Linked DNA regions of Homo sapiens: region 1 is linked to region 2. The links are contacts of gene promoters, found by promoter capture Hi-C in human tissues and cell types (Jung and others, 2019). All regions are on one chromosome and are shown on one strand. Each heading gives the region's core, a stretch centred on a gene start or on the middle of the fragment in contact. The rest is flanking DNA. Distances are from core to core; before and after follow the strand shown. Region 1 overlaps LINC00910 (long intergenic non-protein coding RNA 910). Region 2 holds the start of MEOX1 (mesenchyme homeobox 1).

Evidence for each region. Contacts are between HindIII fragments. The study calls those that stand out against the background at their distance.
Region 1: a contact is called between a fragment that was not itself captured here and the fragment with the promoter of MEOX1 in region 2, in 3 of the 25 tissues and cell types used here (IMR-90 fibroblasts, liver and neural progenitor cells).

What each region holds. Positions count from the first base shown.
Region 1 is chr17:43,376,291-43,384,054 of GRCh38, reverse strand. It overlaps LINC00910 (long intergenic non-protein coding RNA 910), which reads left to right. Exons shown (of 6, transcript NR_027412.1): 2 at 2,395-2,782; 3 at 4,793-4,932; 4 at 6,242-6,384. It overlaps LOC124904007 (a long non-coding RNA gene), which reads right to left and starts at 4,305. Exons shown (of 2, transcript XR_007065762.1): 1 at 3,948-4,305; 2 at 2,887-2,983. The HindIII fragment of the contact is 6,395 bases long and covers 3,129-7,764 here.
Region 2 is chr17:43,657,651-43,664,710 of GRCh38, reverse strand. It overlaps MEOX1 (mesenchyme homeobox 1), which reads left to right and starts at 2,789. Exons shown (of 3, transcript NM_004527.4): 1 at 2,789-3,645. The coding sequence starts at 3,177. RefSeq lists an enhancer at 3,495-4,036. The HindIII fragment of the contact is 25,285 bases long and covers 1-7,060 here.

The sequences.
Region 1 (7,764 bases), core at 5,077-7,576, 280 kb after region 2:
ATGTTTCTGAGGTTCATCCCCATTGTGACATGTGCCATTATGTTGTACCATTATGTTTTTATTCCTGAATATCACATTTTGTTTATCCGTTCACCCACTGATGGACGTTTGAGTAGTTTTCAGTTCAAAGCTATTCGAATAATTCTGCTCTAAACATTTGCCTCTAAGTCTTTATAAGGACATACGTTGTCATTTCTCTCGGCCTGCCTGCTCATTACACATTGGTGTTCCTGTGATTCTGAAACATGTACTCTTCTCTTACACAAAGTAGTATCTCCGTGTCATCTCTCCCAGTCCATGGCTACTGGGGACCACCTGTATACCTCACCCTGATCATAGAAACAGAAGTCCAGTCTCTCTATGTTTTCAAAGGCCTCCAAGATTTTCAACTCTTTCTCTCTTTCTCTTTCTTTTTCTCTTTTTCTTTTTCTTTCTTTTTTTCTTTCTTTCTCTCTCTCCCTCTCTCTCTCTCTCCCTCTCTCTCTCTCTCTCTCTCTCCCTCTCTCTCTCTTTCTTTTTTTTTTCAAGTCTCGCTCTGTGGCCCGTGGTGGAGGGCAGTGGCATGACCATGGCTCACAACCTCGACCTCCCCAGCTCAAGTGACCCTCCACCTCAGCCTCCTGAGTAGCTGGGACTACAGGAGCATGCCACCATGCCTAGTTTCATATGTGCTTGCTTCCATCCTCTGCCCCTAATGGTGCCACGTACTCTGTTCTCAGTAAGCACCCCTGGCCCATGGGTCTTTAGACTTAGCCTTGCTCACACGGATTTGCCATCTCCCTTCAGGCCTTTCTGCCTCAACTTGCTGATTCTGTATTTTATAACCCCAGAAAGTGTTCTAAGACCCACTCAGCCACCAGCGTAGACATCTGGAGTTATAACTGTATCACTTGTTATCCAAATCCATGTGGTCCCCAAGTTTCAGATATTGGTAGTGAGAATTGAGGTCTCAAAAAACATATTTGCTTCTTCTCTCTCCCTCAGCCTCCCTCCTTCAGTCATCAAGTCCCAGAGCAGAATGCTTCCCAAACTCTGATGTGCATGTGCATTCTGGGGGAACCTTGTTAACATGCAGGTTCTGACGCAATAGGTCTGGAGCCAGTGATTCTGCACTTCTAACCCACCCCCAGATGATATCAATGGTGCTGGTTTGGGGACCACACTGTGAGCAGCAAGACTGTAGCAAGATGCTCCATTTCTACTAAATATCTTTTTTTTAAAGGGGCATATGGGCTTGGCGCAATGGCTCATGCCTGCAATCCCAGCACTTTGGGAGGCCGAGGGGGGAGGATCGCTTGAGGAGGAGTTTGAGACCACCCATGGCAACATAGGTAGACCTCATCTCTACCAAAAAAAAAAAAAAAATTAACAAAAATTAGCCAGGTGGCTGGGCGTGGTGGCTCACACTTGTAATCCCAGAATTTTGGAAGGCCAAGGCAGGTGGATCACTTGAGGTCAGGAGTTCAAGACTAGCCTGGCCAACATGGTGAAACCCTGTCTCTACTAAAAACACAAAAATTACCTGGACACGCACACCTGTAGTGCCAGCTACTTGGGAGGTTGAGGCAAGAGAATCGCTTGAACCCGAGAGGCAGAGGTTGCAGTGAGCTGAGATTGTGTCACTGCACTCCAGCCTGGGTGACAGAGCAAGACTTCGTCTCAAAAAAAATTAGCCAGTTGTGGTGATGCGCGCCTGTGGTCCCAGCTACTTGGGAGGATGAGGCAGGAGGATTGCTTGAGCCTGGGAGGTCAAGGCTGCAGTGAGCCGTGATCTCTTCACTGCATTCCAGCCAGGATGGCAAAGTGAGACTGTGTATCAAAAAAACAAAAAAACAGCCAGGTGCAGTGGCTCATGCCTGTAATCCCAGCACTTTGGGAGGCCGAGGCAGGCAGATCACATGAGGTCGGGAGTTCGAGACCAGCCTGACCAACATGGAGAAACCTCGTCTCTACTAAAAATACAAAATTAGCCAGGCGTGGTGGCACATGCCTGTAATCCCAGCTACTAGGGAGGCTGAGGCAGGAGAATCGCTTGAACTCAGGAGGCGAAGGTTGTGGTGAGCCGAGATCATGCCATTGCACTCCAGCCTGGGGAACAAGAGCGAAATTCCGCCCCCCCCCAAAAAAAAAACAGAAACAAAAAAAGGAGCCATATGGAACACTAACTTTGCTGGCTGCTGCAGCCAAACAATCTCCCTTCCCCCACCAAGGCCACACAGATTGGCACAGTTCTGTTTCTGTTGCTATAAGTGAAAGTTTTTGGTTGGTAACTGTGAAGAGGCCCAGGCGGGAGAGAAAAGAATGGTGGGGCTGGGCAGGGGGCAGGGGTGGTGGAAGGAGTCAGAGAGGAGGCAAAGGAAAATAGGGAAACAAATGGTATCTCTCTCCAAGCAGATCTCTTCAACTACCTGTGAAAACTGATGTGATGAAAAGGGGAATTTGAAGGAGCCATTCCAGAAGACAGGGCGAAAACTGAAGTGCAATCAGGGCCAAGAAAAACAGAAATAGCAGGACCTGGAGTTGCATAGGTTGAATAGTTGAATAGGCTGCTCTCCTCAGCTGGCAGGAAACCTGGCAGCCTCCTGGTGCCCAAGGACTGAAAACCTTAGAAGCACCTGGAGTTGGCAGCCTTGGCATGGTCAGGTTGGCACCTCTGGAGGTGCCCAGGCTTCCCTGGCAGCATTGTGAGCAGTGGATGGTGTTGAAGGGCAGCCAGAGGAGGAATGGAACACATGCTCCTTGCTAACCACACGGACAAGGCCACGTTCACAGGTACACAAAGGTAGGTATACAAAGGTAGGTACACAATCAATCAAAAGTTTAAAAAACAGCCATGATACCAGAAGGCTCTTTTGTTTAAAAGAAAGTTTCAGAAATAGACCTAAGTATATATGAGGCCTTTATTATATGATAAAAGTGGCATCTCAGACTGATGAAAAGGTGGGCTGCTCCATATATGATGCTGAGGCAACTGGTTAGCCATCTTAAAAAAACAAAAGTTGGATGTGTAACTGAAATCATAGACTAGAACAAGTAGGTTAGGGATGCAAATACAAAGGATCAACAATTCAAAAAGGCCAATGGGGAAAGGATCTGAGCAGTCAGCTCATAGAAAAGAAAATAGAAGATCTTAAGCATGCAAAAAGGTACACCCCCTTACTGGTGTAAGAGATTCCACCACTTTTTTTTCTTTTTCTTTTTCTTTTTTGAGACAGAGTCTGGCTGTCACCCAGGCTGGAATGCAATGGCATGATCCCAGCTCACTGTAACCTCTGCCTACTGGACTCAAGTTATCCTCCCACCTCAGCCTCACAAGTAGCTGGGATGACAAGCCTGAACCACCATGCCCAGCTAGTTTTTGTATTTTTTGTAGAGACAGGGTTTTGCCAATGTTGCCCAGGCTGATCTCGAACTTCTGTGCTCAAGTGATCTGCCTGTCTCAGCCTCCCATGTGAGCCATGGCGCCAGGCTGGAGGGCAATGGCAAGATCTCGGCTCACCACAACCTCTGCCCCCCAGGTGTTAGAAACAAGTGTTCAGTGCTGCAAAGAAAAACCACCACTTAAACAAAGAATTTCTCAGCAAGGCACATTTACTTCTGCAGAAGGGTACAGCTTGCGTCTGACTGATCCCAAGAGCACATCAAGCCGGGTAGAGCAGGGGTTTTTATCCCTAACACAGTTTCTGTTTCTGTGTCCTTTCCCCATTTGCTGGAGTTGGACAGCACAGTCTAAGCTGACCCAATTGACTAGTGCTTGAAATTGAATAAGGCCAATTAGGCAGGAAGGGAGAGGCTGTCCATTACCAACTAGGCGGGAAGGGTTGTTTACCAAGTAAGAGGTTTGCTAGTTACCCATTAAACAGAGAAACAAGTGCTCCTTCCTGATTAAGCAGGAAGGGCTGCGTATAGAGCAAGAAAGACCAAGGAAACTTTGAAGAGGAACTTACTGTTTCTGGCAATTTTCCCCCTCCTGACTTTATAGTTCTTCCTCTTCAAATTCCTCTAATATATTTTGGCTTTGTTGCTCCTCTTGGTTTCTAGAAGTAGGAGTTTATCTGAGTAGGGTGGGGGAGAATGGAGAGGGGTTTGGTAAGAGCTGTTTCTATAAGCCTTTGCACAAATCCACAAATGCAAGGTATGACACAACCTACAAGAATGAGTACACTGGTAATAATTGCAAGGGAGGTAAAGATTGAGGTCATGAGTCCCTTCCATTTCCAAACCATTTTTCCATGAGACCAGAGAAGGGGTGTTCAAGCGATTCTCCTGCCTCAGCCTCCCTAGTAGCTGGGATTATAGGCATGCGCCACCACACCTGGCTAATTTTGTATTTTTAGTAGAGACGGGGTTTCTCCATGTTGGTGTCAGGCTGGTCTCGAACTCCCGATCTCAGGTGATCCACCTGCCTCGGCCTCCCAAAGTGCTGGGATTACAGGCATGAGTCATCTGCCCAACTTGCTAAAAGATCTAATCCCAGCTACTCGGGGGGCTGAGGCAGGAGACTACCCCGAACCTTGGAGGTGGAGGTTGCAGTGCGCCAAGATTGTGCCATTGCACTCCAGCACTCTAGCCTTGGCAACAGAGCGAGTCTCCGTTTAAAAAAAATAATAATAATAATTAAAAAAAAATTTTTTTTTTTGGTAGAAACTGGGTCTTGCTCTGTTGCCTAAGCTGCTTAACCTCCATCTCAAGGTTTCCTTCTGTAGGTAACCTTTGCGAGTTTGTAATGACGAGAGCACTTAGCACACAGCCTAGGCCAAACAGTAAATGCTTCCTATTGTATTGTCCGCAGGCAACGCAGTTGCTCAGGTGCTTCGGTATCACAGCCAAGACCCCTTCGGGGGAAGCTAGTCGGATACTGGGACCCACATTCCAGACTACTGAGCCGCGGTCGCGCCCTCGGCTCCGTTTCTGCTCCCTCCACCCCACGAGGTAGGCAGTGGTGTTTCCACTTCCCAGCTGGGGAAACTGAGAGTCCGAAGGTTAAGTAGTTTGTCCCCAGTCCCCACTGACAGGGCAGGGAGAGGGGCGGGGCTGTGACTCCCAGGGCGGCAGCCCCCTCAGGGCGCGATCTCGCAGTCGCAGTCGGACTTCTCTCTGCGGCCCCGGGAAGTCCCCCCCCAGTGGGGGAGAGGGGGCTCATGGGCTCCGCTTTCGCCTCCGACCCAGCCAGACCGCTGAAGCTCCGCTCTTCACAGTAATGGCTTTCCTCAAAAGAGCTCGGACCACTCTCCTCCAACTTCCTTCCGCAGACACCTCGTGACGCCCACGCCCATTTCGCTTGGTCACTGTCTTGACCCCGGGTGGGTCCATCAGCTCATTGTAAATTAATTTTTGTATTTTTAGTAGAGACAGTGTTTCACCATGTTGGCCAGGCTGGCCTAGAACTCCTGTCCTCAGGTGATCCGCCCTCCTTGGCTTCCCAAAGTGGACAAGGACAGCAGCTCTTTTTGAAAGGAGATACAGGCCGGGTGCGGTGGCTCACGCCTGTAATCCCAGCACCTTGGGAGGCTGAAGCAGGTGGATCACCTGAGGTCAGGAGTTTGAGACCAGCCTGACCAAAATGGAGAAACCCTGTCTCTACTAAAAATACAAAATTAGCCAGGCGTGGTGGCACATGCCTGTAATCCCAGCTACTCAGGAGGCTGAGGCAGGAGAATCGCTTGAACTCAGGAGGCAGAGGTTGCGGTGAGCTGAGATCGCGCCATTGCACTCCAGCCTGGGCAACGAGAGTGAAACTCTGTCTCAAAAAAATAAAATAAAATAAAATAAAACAGAAAGAAAGAAAGGAGATACAGTATGCCCCATGAGATGCTGAAAGGGACTCACCTCTTTTGAAATTAACCTAAGCATTTAAAGCCGTGGCTCTGTTTGAAATGGAATGATTAGGAGAAAATGCATTCTTGAAGAAATAGACAGCAGTGCCGGCCAAATAAATGCTGTATGTGGAATGGACTGGGAGAAGGCCATGTCCATCTTGATGTGAGGACTTTTAATGCCTTGATCGTACTTGCCTGTATTATTCTATGTTGTCAACGTGTCCTCTAATACCAGGTCCTCCATGATAAGTTGCTCCCGATCCAGAAGTATTGCCCCAGCTGCAAAGAGCCCTGATTCTCAAATGTGGTCGTGATCATGGTTACTGATTGGTCCATAACAAGAAAGTTAAAAAAAAAAAAAAAAAAAAAAAGACATTGTCAGACTCTTTATTCTATTTGCTGAAGTGGCCTTCTTTTTATAGGACGGGGGTGGAAGGCCACCTTCGATGGGTGCATCCTCCACGATGACCTGCTAACAAAGGTGCATGGATTTCAGAGTCTGATTGGCCTACAACAGCATTTGGCTTGTGGAGACAGTGGTTCCCTGATGAAAAACTGCCATGATGTAAGGAAGAGCCTGTCAGAGCGAGGCTGGGGTGCTGCGTGTTGGGGAGGTGGAGGTGTGGCTTCCCGGGAGAAGCTCCACCCGCTGGCTGAGTCTGGCACATAAACCAGTCTGTGAGGGGATGGATGTGGGTGTAATGGGGGCAATTACAGTAGGAAGGAGCCCACGTGGAGCCTGCATTCTCTGGGACAGGGCATTACTGCATTCTCTGGGACAGGCTAAGGCCCAGATCCTACCTTCCCAGGTGGCTGGATGGGTCATAGATGTATGAACCGGTCCCCTCATTTTCTGATTGCCCTGTGCTTAACGTTTCTGTACCTTTACTGAGGCTCTTTCCTCCAACTCCAGTGCCCAGACCCCCCTTCTCCTGAACATGAATGCCTGTCCATGGAAATTCGAGTCTCTCTCTCTCACCCAGGCTGGAGTGCAGTGATGCAATCTCAACTCACTGCAACCTCTGCCTCCCAGGTTCAAGTGATTCTTGTGCCTCAGCCTCTGGAGTATCTAGGATCACAGGTGCGTGCCACCATGTCTGGCTAATGTTTTGTATTTATAGTAGAGATGGGTTTCGACATATTGGCCAGGCTGGTCTTGATCTCCTGGCCTCAAAGTGATCTACCCACCTGGGCCTCCCAAATTGCTGGGATTACAGTTGTGAGCCACCACACCCAGCCTGTCCCTGAAATTCTAATGAAATGTGCGATAAAGTTGTTTTGTTTTTCTTTTTGTTTTCCCTTCTTGGCAAAGCCTGGTGTTTCTATTTTAGTGGATTTGCCTGGCACTGAGGACTGCTATGGTGGTCTTCAGAGGCTCCTGGTATTGACTGCTTGTGAAACCGCTTTTGCAAAATTATGACTGAGACAGTGAAAGAGATCTAACTTAACCGACCCAATCTTGCTTCTAACCTCCAAATTGTCCTTATTCATTCCTGAGCATAGCCTGAACTAACTTTGGGAGAAGCTTAGTTTATATTTTATTTTATAGTTTAAAACAAAGATGTTAACAGCCCTTTCCCAAGGCAGACTTCCTTCTTGCCTGGGGACTAGGTTGCCTTTGGAGGACTAACATTAGCCACGAGATTAGAAATTATGGGCTGGGCCTCGTGGCTCACCCCTGTAATCCCAGCACTTTGGGAGGCCACGGCAGGTAGATCACCTGAGGTCAGGAGTTCAAGACCAGCCTGGCCAACGTGGTGAAACCCCATCTCTACTAAAGAATACAAAAATTAGCCGGTTATGGTGGCACATGCCTATACTGCCAGCTACTTGGGAAGCTGAGGTGGGAGGATCGCTTGAACCTGGGAGGCGGCGTGGAGGTTGCAGTGAGCCAGGATCTTGCCACTGCACTCCAGCTTGGGCGACAGAGTGAGACTCTGTCTCA
Region 2 (7,060 bases), core at 1,540-4,039:
GATCTCGGTGCACTGCAAGCTCTGCTTCCCGGGTTCACACCATTCTCCTGCTTCAGCCTCCCAAGTAGCTGGGACTACAGGCGCCCGCCACCACGCCCGCCTTTTTTTTTTTTTTTTTGTATTTCTAGTAGAGACGGGGTTTCACTGTGTTAGCCAGGATGGTCTCGATCTCCTGACCGCATGATCCACCCGCCTCGGCCTCCCAAAGTGGTGGGATTACAGGCGTGAGCCACCGCGCCCGGCCTAATTTTTGTATTTCTATTAGAGACGGGGTTTTACCATGTTGGCCGGGCTGGTCTTGAACTCCTGGCCTCAAATGATCTGCCTGCCTCAGCCTTCCAAAGTGCTGGGATTATAGGTCTGAGCCACCGTGCCTGGCCTACATAAAGGATTTCATTGAAGATTTGCAAATGTCTGTGGGCTGGGCTGCCTCAATTTGAATCCTGGGTCCGCCGCTTCCCTGCTGTGTGGCCTTGTGCAGGTTACACAGTCTATCTGTGCATCAGAGTCTTCTGCTGAAAAACGGAGCTGATAAAAAAAAAAGAGAGAGAGAGAAACGGAGCTGATGAGAATGACTGTTGCCTCAGAAGGCTTTTGTGGGAATCCGTGGGGGTAAAAATGTGTAAGGTGCAAAGTGCCTTACACAGATCCCACTCTGACTGTCATCTCAGATGAGGAAACAGAAGTTCAGAGAGATGGCCAGGCATGGTGGCTCATGCCTGTAATCCCAGCACTTTGGGAGGCCGAGGCGGGCGGATCACGAGGTCAGGAGATTGAGACCATCCTGGCTAACACGGTGAAACCCCGTCTCTACTAAAAAATACAAAAAATTAGCCGGGCGTGGTGGCGGGTGCTTGTAGTCCCAGCTACTCGGGAGGCTGAGGCAAGAGAATGGCGTGAGCCCGGGAGGCGGAGCTTGCAGTGAGCTGAGATCATGCCACTGCACTCCAGCCTGGGCGACAGAACGAGACTCCATCTCAAAAAGAAAAAAAAAAAAAAGAAGTTCAGAGAGATAAGGTGACTTGTTCCAGGGCACACAGCCAGGAAGTGGCAGACCTGGGGCTTGAACTCAGACCCGTCTAACCTCAAACCCCATGCCTCCTCCTCTGCATCTGGCCTGCTCCAAACTGAACAGCAGGACACCTGAGGCCAAGTGCTGATTCCACCATTTCTTAGCTGTGTGAGTCTGGGCAGCCCAGTCATCCATCTGAGCCTCGGTTTTGTCATCTGCAAAATGGAGACATAATTCTTACTTACCCATCCTAGGAAAGTTGTGAGGCTCAGAGAATTGTGTGTGCCACAGCTAAGCCCTGGGCAAAGCAGAAAGATGAGTCTGGTTGACAGCTATGACCCCATCCACTCTACTGGTCTACAACACTCTGACCGCTTGTTCCAGAAGAGGGCACATCTTTTCATATGTACACCCCTCCCCATCTTTTACAGCTGCTCCTGCTCCCAGGATGTGTATCTGACTGGAGTTTCTGGATTAAAGGCCAGTCGTGGCTTCATTCCACATCCCTGGGTGCCCTTCGGCTCCTCCTAGGAGCATCTCCTGCACCCACCCCCCAGGGCCCCACCTCCAGGCTGCAGAGCTAAGACCTAGGGGCCCCTCCTCAGGGAACCCTCGCCGTCTTTGGAAGCAGCCAGCAGAGACGCTGCTGTTAAGGTCCATGCCTGTTTCTGCCCCCATCCTGCTGCTCTGGGCCATGGGAATAACCAGTGGGGAAGGAGTTCTGGCCCCTGGGTGTTAGGAATGTCGTCCTCCAAGAAATTGCATTAACCCTCTGAGAGACCAGCAGGGCGCAGCCATGAGGAAGACTGGGCATCAAGATGGCACTTGGGCTGGCTGCCCTGTGATGTGCACCAGCCCGGAGACCCACGTGCCTGCTTGCCAAAGAGGCTCCTTTGGGGAATGAGGAGCCCCTGATTCCTATTTCCCTACCCCAAATTCCTCGGAAGCCTCCGCCTCTGGGGGATGAGAAAGGGAAGCAGGTGGGTGGAGGTGAAGGGGGCAGGGAGCAGGTGGGAGGAGACCCGAAGAAACTTCAAGGACCTTATTTAAGAGCCTTGCCATTGCTGTGAAGAAAAATGACTTGAAACCTCTCTAGAGAAGAGTGTGGCTAATTGGCATGTATGTTGGAGGTTAAAGAGCGGAAGGAAGAATCTGATTGTTTTTTTAAGTTACTGAGAAAGTGAGAATGTCACTCTGGGCAGAGAGAAATTCTTTTTTTCTAGAGTGTGCCTTTCTTTGTACTGCAGACCACAGTGGGCCGCTGAGACTTGCAAAAAAGATTTCTTTTAATCCACCTTCCTTTTTCGCAGGCAGCAGTAGAAGGGCCTTTAAATCAAATGCAATCACCAAGCTTGTCTCTTGCTCTTATTCCTCACTTCACTCCCTGGAATTTGGCATTTGATGGATTCTGGATCTGACTTAAGGCTTTTTCTAAATCCAAGACTTGGGGAATTTTGTTAACAGTGCAATAAAAATAACTTCATAGTGTTACAGGAGGCACATTAAAGACGGTGTGTGTGTATGTGTGTGTGTGCTGCTCTCTTTCCTTAAAAAAAAAATACAGACAATGTTTCTTTAAAAGTCTCCATCTGCAAATCCCATTAGATGTGCATATAAGGTTTCTGATGATTAATAGTTGCCTGCTAGGGTTTTGGTTGGAGGGGATCTTGTGTGTGTGGGTTAACCCCTCCCTCTCCTCTCTCACATTTCACTTCAGAAATTTGTCACTCTCTCCCCACCGCAGGATTTAAAAGTGTGTCCCAGCAGCCCTGGTCCAGCCCTCTGCAGGCATTTGCTCTGGGCTCCAGGACGAACTCCTCGTCAGCTGGTGCGTCTGGGTTGGGACAGTGAAAATGTTTAGTGTCATTGGCGACAAATACACATACAGGGGATCCCAGTAGGTAGGCTGGTGCATTGGAGGGGCAGGAGCAAGCCCGACATAGGTGTGTGCACACACATAGGAGTAGCTGGCCACATGTGTGTGTACTTTAAGGAGAGACTTTAGTTTTGGGTTTTTTTTTTTTTTTGGTTCCTGGGGTAAATTTTCTGTTGAACATTTTTCCCTCCTATTTAGTTTTTTTTCTTTTGCATTTTTAAAAATTTGAACATAAAAAGTATAAAGAATCAAATCTTTGAAAGGACCGAGGCGTGCAGCGGACAGCAGATGGATCCCGCGGCCAGCAGCTGCATGAGGAGCCTCCAGCCCCCAGCCCCTGTCTGGGGCTGCCTTCGAAACCCCCACTCGGAAGGCAATGGGGCCTCAGGGCTACCCCACTACCCGCCCACCCCGTTCTCCTTCCACCAGAAACCAGACTTCCTGGCGACAGCGACGGCAGCGTACCCTGACTTCTCAGCCTCCTGCCTGGCAGCCACCCCACACAGCCTGCCCCAGGAGGAGCACATCTTCACTGAGCAGCACCCCGCTTTCCCACAGTCCCCCAACTGGCACTTCCCTGTCTCAGACGCCCGGCGCAGGCCCAACTCAGGCCCGGCAGGGGGTTCCAAGGAAATGGGGACCAGCAGCCTGGGCCTGGTGGACACCACAGGAGGCCCAGGCGATGACTACGGGGTGCTTGGGAGCACTGCCAATGAGACAGAGAAGAAATCATCCAGGCGGAGAAAGGAGAGTTCAGGTAGGTGGCTCAGGAGCAGCTGATCATTCCTTTACTGTGTGACCCTGGGGAAGTTACTCACCCTCTCTGTGCCTAGGTGCTCTGAGCATGAATTTCTGTCTAGTCCATCCAAATGCAGGAGACTGGACCAGTTACCTTTGGGGTTTCTTCCACTGAGAGTTCTAGGATTCTCTGGTGATGGGGACCATGTCTGTGTCCCAGCACTCCTGGGCCCCAGAAAGGGTGTCCAGCAAGAGAATGAAACAGGATCAGCCAGGATTTGGAGGACACGTGAAATGGATCCTCTGGGTGCAGACTGGCGAGGGCTGGTGAGGGGCTTTCCTGAATCAGGCTGCCATTGAGTCATCCTCCTCCCCACCATGCTTTGGCCAGCCCCAAGTGGTCCTAGAGCCACAGGGCTCGCTTACCAGGGAAGTTCAGCTGAGGTTAAGGCTCTGAGAGCTAAGACTGAAGCTGGGACCCTGGGTGGCCACCCAAAGCCAAGACCCTATGTGTCCAGGAGCCTAGAGGCAGAGAAGCAGGCCTGCGGCTGGGATGGGAGAATCAAGGGGTGAGGGGGAGATGGAGGGCTGAGGTTTGGGGCAGACTGCCCACCAGATATCACCCTGCGGAGCTGGGCCATGTCCAGGCCAAGGGGACAGACAACTCAGCATGCTGAGATCTGGCTGACCCCCCAGGAAGGCAGCCCCGCAAGGAGCTGCAAGGGATGGGCAGCCTCTGAGAGAGTCAGGGAGGCAGGCAGCCAAGGGAGTCCGTGCTGGAGTCCCAGAGGCTGGAGGATGAGATTGGCCTATTTGTTAAGATTCCAGCTAAAGCCCTTCTCTTCCCCAGGGTGGGGACCTGCTGCTTCCTCACCTCCCCACCAGGCCCTCCCTGGTTGCTCACTATACCTGTCCACCTTTTGTCTGGTTCCTTGTCCCGGCCTCGTTCAGAACAAAGCAGTGACCAAGCCTCCTGCCCGTGCTGCCCTGTTTTCCTCCTGACAGCCGCCCTCAGGGGCACGCCTGTCTGTCGGAGCCTGTAGAGGACCTTCCCATGGGGCTAACCAGGGCAGGACAGAAAAGAAGGACACCAACCAACAGGTGGGAATGCTTTGTGCTTTGCTTTATAAGCACAGCTTTCCCGAGTTTCTGCTCTTAGCCAAGCCCAGGAATGCTCTGAGATGAATAAAGGGGTCTCACCCAAGAAAGCTCAAACTGAGAGGAAGAAGAGGCCTGCAGAGGTGTGTCAGCAGTGGGATGTGCCCTGATGGGGAGGCTTAAGGTGCCATGGGATACTGACGTCAGCTCTTTTGAGTCCCACGGGTTTGGGAGATGGGGACAGCAGGTTTTATTAGTACCTTGATTCTCTCAATCTGCAAAATGAAAGACTGAAAGTTGGTGAGAACACAGAAAGAATGGGGTCAAACTAGAGTGAGCAGCTCATCTCCATTTGCCCAGGACTTTTCCAGTTTTAGCACTGAAAATCCTGTCGTAGGAAACCCCACAGTCCCAGGCAAACAGAAGAATTGGTCACCCTAGAAGTGAGCTCAAACCCCAGGCTTCAGGCCCCCGGTATCACCCCCTTCAGTAGATTTCAAATGCAGTCCTCATTTTGAAATGATGTTTGGTCTGTCTGCTTGAAGAAGCCCCTTCTTCAATGGGAGATAGGAACTCTAGCAGCCCTCATGGCTGCTAAATAGAAGGGCCCTTTAAACCGCCAGCCAGTTAGATCCCCATCCCGAAAATTAACTCATCCTGCCCCTGGTAGGAAATGTGCTAAGGATGAGAAGCAACTCTCAGCGACTTGGCTCTGAACCTGGTTGAAGAGCTTTCCCCTTGGTGGCGGCACGCAGCACTGTGGCTCCTTCCTCTCTGCCACTTTCCAGAGAACTGACAGCCAAGGGCATTGGGAAGGGATAGCAAAGCCAAGAGCCTGCTGGGCTCAGGCAGAATCTTCCAGCATTCCGAGTCTCAGCAAAACCCAAATGCACCAGCTCTCTTTTTGGCGAGTGGCCGATGGCCCTGCAATGCAGAGAGACCATTCACACTAAGCAGCTGGCCACCCAGGAGTACAGGGACACCCTCGGCTGAACGGCCTGCATGCTTCAGGGTCAGACTTTGGTGGAGGGAGGTTCCCATCCGCAGGGGCCCTGGGCTTCCCTAAGGGTCCCCTCAGGAGCACCAGCAGCAGATGAGGCAGGGCCCAGTGAGCTGACTCTCACTCATCCCCCTGTGATTCCAGACAAACTCACTGTTCAGCATGGAAATCTTTATTGCCGCAATGCTTGCATCCTCCTTTGGAATTTAACTGAAGGGGAGGAAGGAGGCAAGAAAGATCAGCTTTGTAAGAGCCCAAAGAAGGGGGAAAGTGACGCAAGGCTCATGACCTACTCCAGGAATCTGGAATTCAGCTCAGAAAAGGCAAACCCACAGAGAGCCCCCCACCCAACCCTGCCAATCCTGAGTCTATAATTGGATCCCCTCTCCAAAATTGTGATATTTTGTTCATTATCAATTTTTTGCATTACTTTTGATTTTTACAAATATTGCCTTAAAATATTCTTTTTTTTTTTTTTTTGAGATGGAGTCTCACTCTAACGCCCATGCTGGAGTGCAGTGGCATAGTTTCAATTCACTGCAACCTCTGCCCCTTGGGTTCAAGCAATTCTCCTGTCTCAGCCTCCTGAGTAGCTGGGATTATAGGCGCACGCCCCCTCTCCCGGCTAATTTTTGTATTTTTAGTAGAGTCGGGGTTTTACCATGTTGGTCAGGATGGTCTCAAACTCCTGACCTCGTGATCAGCCCACCTCGGCCTCCCAAAGTGCTGGCATGCGCCACCGTGCCCGGCCTTCCTTAAAATATTATTGATCTTGACTACAGAGGGGTTGGGCATGCCCTTGCATTTGGGCCTCCCCAAGTCCAGGCTGAGTGGTCCCTGGAAGGTTAACCAGCATTGATCAGAAACGCGTTTTCCATAGTTCTTCCCAGCCAGACAGACAGGCTGCAGTGTCAGCACGGCAACTTTTGGCTGCATGACTTTGGAAAAGTTCATAACTTCTTCCAGCCTTTGTTTCCCTGGCTGTAAAATGGGCATATAGCAGTAGCCCCTTCCATAGAGAGTCTCTCTGTGAAGGTTAGATGCAGTGATCCATGAGATTAACTCTGTGCCTGGCACATAGTAAGAGTTCAATAAATAGCAGCTGTAAATGGTATTAGGCCCATATTTCCTGAACCAGCCTTCAGAATATAAGGTCTGACAAATATTTCTATATTTATGGGGATGGTGGAATTGAATATTTCAATTATGCTGTCTCAGAAATTCCTGAGTCTAGAGAACTTCTGGCAATCATTTTGTTCCAGTTGTCATCAGGAGCATGGAGCTCAGAGACCTGCCGGAGAGGTTATGGGGTGAGTTGGGCCTGGCAAATGCACCC